2 separate regions of the Homo sapiens genome follow, and region 1 is linked to region 2. Evidence: promoter capture Hi-C in 16 types of primary human blood cells and fetal thymus (Javierre and others, 2016). All regions are on one chromosome and are shown on one strand. The core of a region is centred on a gene start or on the middle of the fragment in contact, and the rest is flanking DNA. Distances in the headings are between cores, read along the strand shown.

The links. Contacts are between HindIII fragments. The CHiCAGO score rates a contact against its expected background, and 5 or more counts as called.
Region 1: a contact is called between a fragment that was not itself captured here and the fragment with the promoter of TRNAU1AP in region 2, in 1 of 17 cell types (endothelial precursors). The highest score is 5.0, in endothelial precursors.

What each region holds. Positions count from the first base shown.
Region 1 is chr1:28,384,129-28,387,177 of GRCh38, reverse strand. All of the region lies in intron 1 of PHACTR4 (phosphatase and actin regulator 4), which reads right to left. Among named protein-coding and RNA genes, the nearest start is that of PHACTR4, 16 kb to the right of the region's middle. The HindIII fragment of the contact is 2,897 bases long and covers 250-3,049 here.
Region 2 is chr1:28,551,572-28,554,585 of GRCh38, reverse strand. It overlaps TRNAU1AP (tRNA selenocysteine 1 associated protein 1), which reads right to left and starts at 1,501. Exons shown (of 9, transcript NM_017846.5): 1 at 1,449-1,501; 2 at 849-946. The coding sequence starts at 1,475. RefSeq lists silencers at 195-489, 1,422-1,561 and enhancers at 1,712-1,771, 1,495-1,789. The HindIII fragment of the contact is 4,615 bases long and covers 1,116-3,014 here.

The DNA.
Region 1 (3,049 bases), core at 449-2,948, 170 kb after region 2:
GTGATTCTCCTACCTCAGCCTCCCGAGTAGCTGGGACTATAGGTGCGTGCCACCACGCCCAGCTAATTTTTGTATTTTTAGTAGAGACAGGGTTTCACCATGTTGGCCAGGGTTGTCTCGATCTCTTGACCTCGTGATCCACCTGCCTCAACCTCCCAAAGTGCTGGGATTACAGGCGTGAGCCATCTCGCCCAGCCTGAGGGCTCTAATTTTTAAGCTTGCTTAATAAACAATCAACTCACCTAAGCTTTCCCAAAGAACAACCATTTCTCTATGAGCCCTATACTCAGGTAAACAAGAAATATACACATCATCAACACTAGTGTAAGAAAGATACTTCACTATTTTTTTAAATATCGTTGGTCCTATATAAAGTGCAGATTTTAAATATCTAATGACCTAGGTGGATACTAGTATCACAAGACTAATAAAAACACGTCATTATTTGGTGTCTTACAAGGTTCAAAATGCCCTCACAAATCAATTGCTACTGAAAATAATTGGATAGCATTATTTAAAAAAACACAAGGCTGGGCACGGTGGCTCACACCGCCACATATATATACCCAACATAGGAGCACCCAGATTCATAAAGCAAGTTCTTAGAGACCTTCAAAGGGACTTAGTTTCCCACAAAATAATAGTGAGAGTCTTTAACACCCCACTGACATTATTAGATCATCGAGACAGAAAATTAACAAAGATATTCAGGATTCAAACAGCAGTGGGTGAAAGGGACCTGATAAGACACCTACAGAACCCTCCATCCAAAAACAACAGAATTGGTCAGGCGTGGTGGCTCATGCCTGTAATCCTAGCACTTTGGGAGGCCGAGGCAGGCAGATCACTTGAGGTCAGGAGTTCAAGACCAGCCTGGCCAACATGGTGAAACCCTGTCTCTACTAAAAGTCCAAAAATTTGCTAAGATTGGTGGCACATGCCTGTAGTCCCAGCTACTCGGGAGGCTGAGGCAGGAGAATTGTTTGAATCTGGGAGGTGGAGGCTGCAATGAGCCGAGATCGCACCACTGCACTCCAGCCTGGGTGACACACCAAGACTCTGTCTCAGAAAAACAAACAAACAAATGAAAAACAGAATACACATTCTTCTCATTGCCACATGGCATATACTCTAAAATTGGTTGCATAATCGGAAGTAAAACACTTCTCAGCAAATGCAAAAGAACTGAAATCATAGTAAACAATCTCTTGGACCACAGCGGAATCAAACTAGAAATTAAGACTAAGAAATTCACTTAAAACCAGCCGGGCGTGGTGGCTTACGTCTGTAATCCCAGCACTTTGGGAGGCCAAGGAGGGCGGATCACCTGAGGTCAGGAGCTCAAGATCGGCCTGGCTAACATGCTGAAACCCTGTCTCTACTAAAAATACAAAATTAGCTGGGCGTGGTGGCACACACCTGTAATCCCAGCTACTCGGGAGGCTAAGGCATGAGAATCGCTTGAACCCAGAAGCGGAGGTTGCAGTGAGTTGGAATCGCACCACCGCACTCCAGCCTGGGCAACAGAATGAGGCTCCGTCTCCAAAAAAAAAAAAAAAAAAATTCACTTAAAACCATACAATTACATGGAAATTGAATGACCTGCTCCTGAATGACTTTTTTTTTTTTTTTTTTGAGACAGAGTCTTGCTCTGTCGCCCAAGCTGGAGTGCAGTGGCACGATCTCAGCTCACTGCAACCTCCGCCTCCAGGTTCAAGCAATTCTCCTGTCTCGGCCTTTCAAGAAGCCAGGACTATAGGCATGCACCACCATGCCTGGCTAATTTTTGAATTTTTAGTAGAGATGGGGTTCTACCATGATGGCCAGGCTGGTCTCAAACTCCTGACCTCTGGTGATCCACCTGCCTCGGCCTACCAAAGTGCTGAGATTACAGGCATAAGCCACTGTTACTGGCCCTGAATGACTTTTGAGTAAATAATGAAATTAAGGCAGAAATCAAGAAGTTCTTTGAAACTAATGAAAACAAAGATATATCATACCAGAATCTCTGGGACACAGCTAAGGCAGTGTTAAGAGGGATATTTAGAGCACTAAGTATCCACATCAAAAAGTTACAAAGATCTCAATTTAACAACCTAACATTACAACTAAAAGAACTAGATAACCAAGAGCAAATCAATCCCAAAGCTAGCAAAAGAGAATAATCAGTATCAGAGCTGAACTGAAGGAGATTGAGACACTGAAAACTCATTCAGAAGATCAACAAATCCAGGAGGGATTTGGGTTTTTTGTTTTATTTTATTTATTTATTTGTTATTATTTTTTGAGATAGAGTCTCACTCTGTTGTCCAGGCTGGAGCACAGAGGTGCAGTCTTGGCTAACTGCAACCTCCACCTCCCAGGTTGAGGCGATTCTCATGCCTTAGGCTCCCAAGTAGTTGGGATTACAGGTGTGCACCACCATGCATGGCTAATTATATTCTTAGTAGAGATGGGGTTTTGCCATGTTGGCCAGGCTGGTCTGAAACTCCTTGCCTCAAGGGATCCATCCACCTTGGCCTCCCAAAGTGCTGGGATTACAAGCATGAGCCCTTGCGCCTGGTGGAGTTGGGTCTTTGAAAAAAGTAATACAACAGACTGCTAGCTAGACTAATAAAGACAAAAAGAGAGAAGATTCAAATATAATCACAATCAGAAATGAAAAGGGGCTATTACCACTGACCCCACAGAAATACAAATAACCATCTGATAATATTATGAACACCTCTATGTACATAAACTAGAAAATCTAGAAAAAATGGATAATTCCTAGACACATACACCCTCCCAAGACTGAACCAGGAAGAAATTGAATCCCTGAACAGACCAATAACGAGCTCTGAAACTGAGTCAGTAATAAATAGCCTATCAGCCAAAAAGAGCCCAGGACCGGATGGATTCACAGCTGAATTCTACCAGATGTACCAAGAAGAGCTGGTACCATTCCTGCTGAAACCATTCCAAAAGAATGAAGAGGAGGGACTCCTTCCTAACTCATTCTATGAGGCCAGCATCATCCTGATACCAAAACTTGGCAGAGACACAACAA
Region 2 (3,014 bases), core at 252-2,751:
ACAGGCGAGAGCCACTGCGCCCGGCTATTTATTGTAACTCTTCAAGTTATTAAGCCTCTTCATAATAGTATTTACCTACCTCAGAAGTTTCTGAGGTTTTAAGGAGATAATGGATGTAAACTGCTTATTACTCAGCAGATCGTAATCTGACTATACTTACTGAGCATATGCTATATGCCATACACTGTCCTAATGATGAATGTGAATTAACTCATTTAATCCTCACCATAACTCTAGGAGGTAGGTGCTGTTATTTCCATTTTTATACTCAAAGTGAATGAGACAGAGCAGTTAAGTAACTTACCCAAGGTCATAGAGTAGAAATAGCTTTCAAACCCAGTCTCGCTTGAGTCCTGCGTTTTTTGTTTTTTTGTTTTTTTTTTTTTTGAGACATTGTTTTGCTCTTGTTGTCCAAGCTGAAGTACAGTGGCACGATCTCAGCTCACTGCAACCTTCGCCTCCCGGGTTCAAGTGATTCTCATGCCTCAGCCTCCGGAGTAGCTGGGGTTACAGGTGCCTGCCACCACACCCGGCTAATTTTTGTATTTTTAGTAGAGACGGGGTTTCACCATGTTGGCCAGGCTGGTCTCAAACTCCTGACCTCAGGTGATCCACCCACCTCAGCCTCCCAAAGTGCTGGGATTACAGGTGTGAGTCACAACGCCTGGCAAGTCCTACCCTTAAGCTACATGCCATCCTTCCACTCATTGGGACCTCAAAATGTTAGCTGTTATAATTTTACAGTGACTATTACTAGGGGTAGTGAGAAGCCATGACTACGATGTTTACATTCTCGTACATGACAGCTGCAACGAGATGTATTAAGAGAGACCTGAGATGAGACTTACCCAGTGAGGCGGTTTCGGATAATTTTGACGCTCATTACGGTCTCCCCCATGGTGGCAAAGGCTCTGGAGATGAAGTTCTCATCCATGTAGGGTTCCAGCTGCGTAAAAACAAGAGCACAGCGGCTCAGGCCGGCGGCCGGGCTTCCCACTCCGGGTTCCAGAGCCCCTCCCGTTCAGCCCAGGGCTGGCTACGCGCCGCTGGGGGAGCGAGGGGCGAGGTTCGCCTCCACTGAGCGGCCTGAAACCCCAGCTCTTTTGGTTCAAGCTTGCCCCGCTTTAGGGAGCCTCCCCTTGGACCTAGAAACCCCACTCCTCCGGTCCCAGAACAGCGCGCCTCAGTCCTTGGATTGCTCCCATTCTATGTCCCCAAAGCACCACCTTTCCCTCCCACGAACCCAGGTGGGGCCCCAGGACCCCTAGCCTCACGGACTCAGCCTCTTCACTTAGATGCTGGAACCCGCTTCTGTGTCACCAAAAAGAACCCCCGTCACACGTCTCCCCTTTCTGGGATCCCAAGTCCCCTCCCACTCAGATCCTTCCTCTCTCGCGAAACCGAGATGCTTCCTTGTCTTCAGACCCCGGACGGCTGCCCTCACTCACGTCGCCCATCCACAGGCTGGCCGCCATACCCGCGCACCGGGGTGGGGCTTTGCGGGCGGGGCTCTGCGGGCGGGGCTCGAAGGCCCGCGCGGGCGCCAATCCTGGCTGCGGAGACCGCTACAGAGCATGCGCCTCCGACGGCTTCTGCGCAGGCTCCCGAGCGCAGCGGCCCGGGTCGGGCAGTGTGTTCAGCTCCGGGTTTTTCCTGCAACCCACTGGGCGCTAGGCTTCCGGATCGCGGTGGGCGGAGTTCAGGCTGGAATGGGGCGGGCCAGATACCACCTGGCCCAGGCGGCTGGGTTACTTGGGTTTATTTCTGACTTTATATATTTAGAAAACAAACAAAACTACACACACACACTCGTCTGACTTTATATAGAAAACAAAACCACACACACACAGACACATATAATTACAACATTAATATATGCTCGTTAGGGCTGGGCACGGTGGCTCACGCCTGTAATCCCAGCACTTGAGGAGGCCGAGGCGGGCGGATCACGAGGTGAAGAAATCGAGACCATCCTCGCCAACAGGGGGAAACCCCCTCTCTACTAAAAGTACGAAAATTAGCGGGCGTGGTGGCGAGCGCTGGTAGTCGCAGCTACTCGGGAGACTGAGGCAGGAGAATCGCTTAAACCCAGGGGGCAGAAGTTGCAGTGAGCCGAGATAGCGCCATTGCACCGCAGCCTGGTGACAGAGCAAGACTCCATATATATACATACACACACACACACACATACACATATATATACACATATATACACATATACACACATAATACACATATACACATATATACACACATACACATATATATACATATATACACACACACACACACATATATATGTATGCTCGTTACTTGGGTTAATTTCTGACTTTACATATTTAGAAAACAAACAAGGCCGGGCGCGGTGGCTCACGCCTGTAATCCCAACACTTTGGGAGGCCGAGGTGGGCAGATCACGAGGTCAGGAGATCGAGACCATCCTGGCCAACATGGTGAAACCCCGTCTCTACTAAAAATACAGAAATTAGCCGGGTATGATGGTGTGCACTTGTAGTCCCAGCTACTCAGGTGGCTGAGACAGGATAATCACTTGAACCCGGGAGGCAGAGGCTGCAGTGAGCCGAGATCGCGCCACTGCACTCCAGCCTGGGCGACAGAGTGAGACTCTGTCTCAAATTAAAAAAAAAACAAAAAACAAAAAACATACACACGTACACACACACACAAACACACACATAATTACAACATTAATATATGCTCGTTGTAAAAAACTGCAGATACAAGTGCATCCAAAAAAGTGAAAATATCCCTCCGGACAACCCGGTTCCACTACCTCCCTATTGTTACCAGGGGTTCTTAGGCTCTCAATCCAACAGAAATTAACATGAGGCCAAAAAAGTTTTCCCAGACAAGTCTTCATTGGAGCTTATGCCTGGGTATAAGGGAGGCAGCACAAGAGAGCGAGAATTCCCTGACTCTCCGAAAAGAGCTGGTTGAGATGTTTTATTGGGCAAAGCACGGAAAGTGATATCAAGTGTAGGGTTTACAGGCTG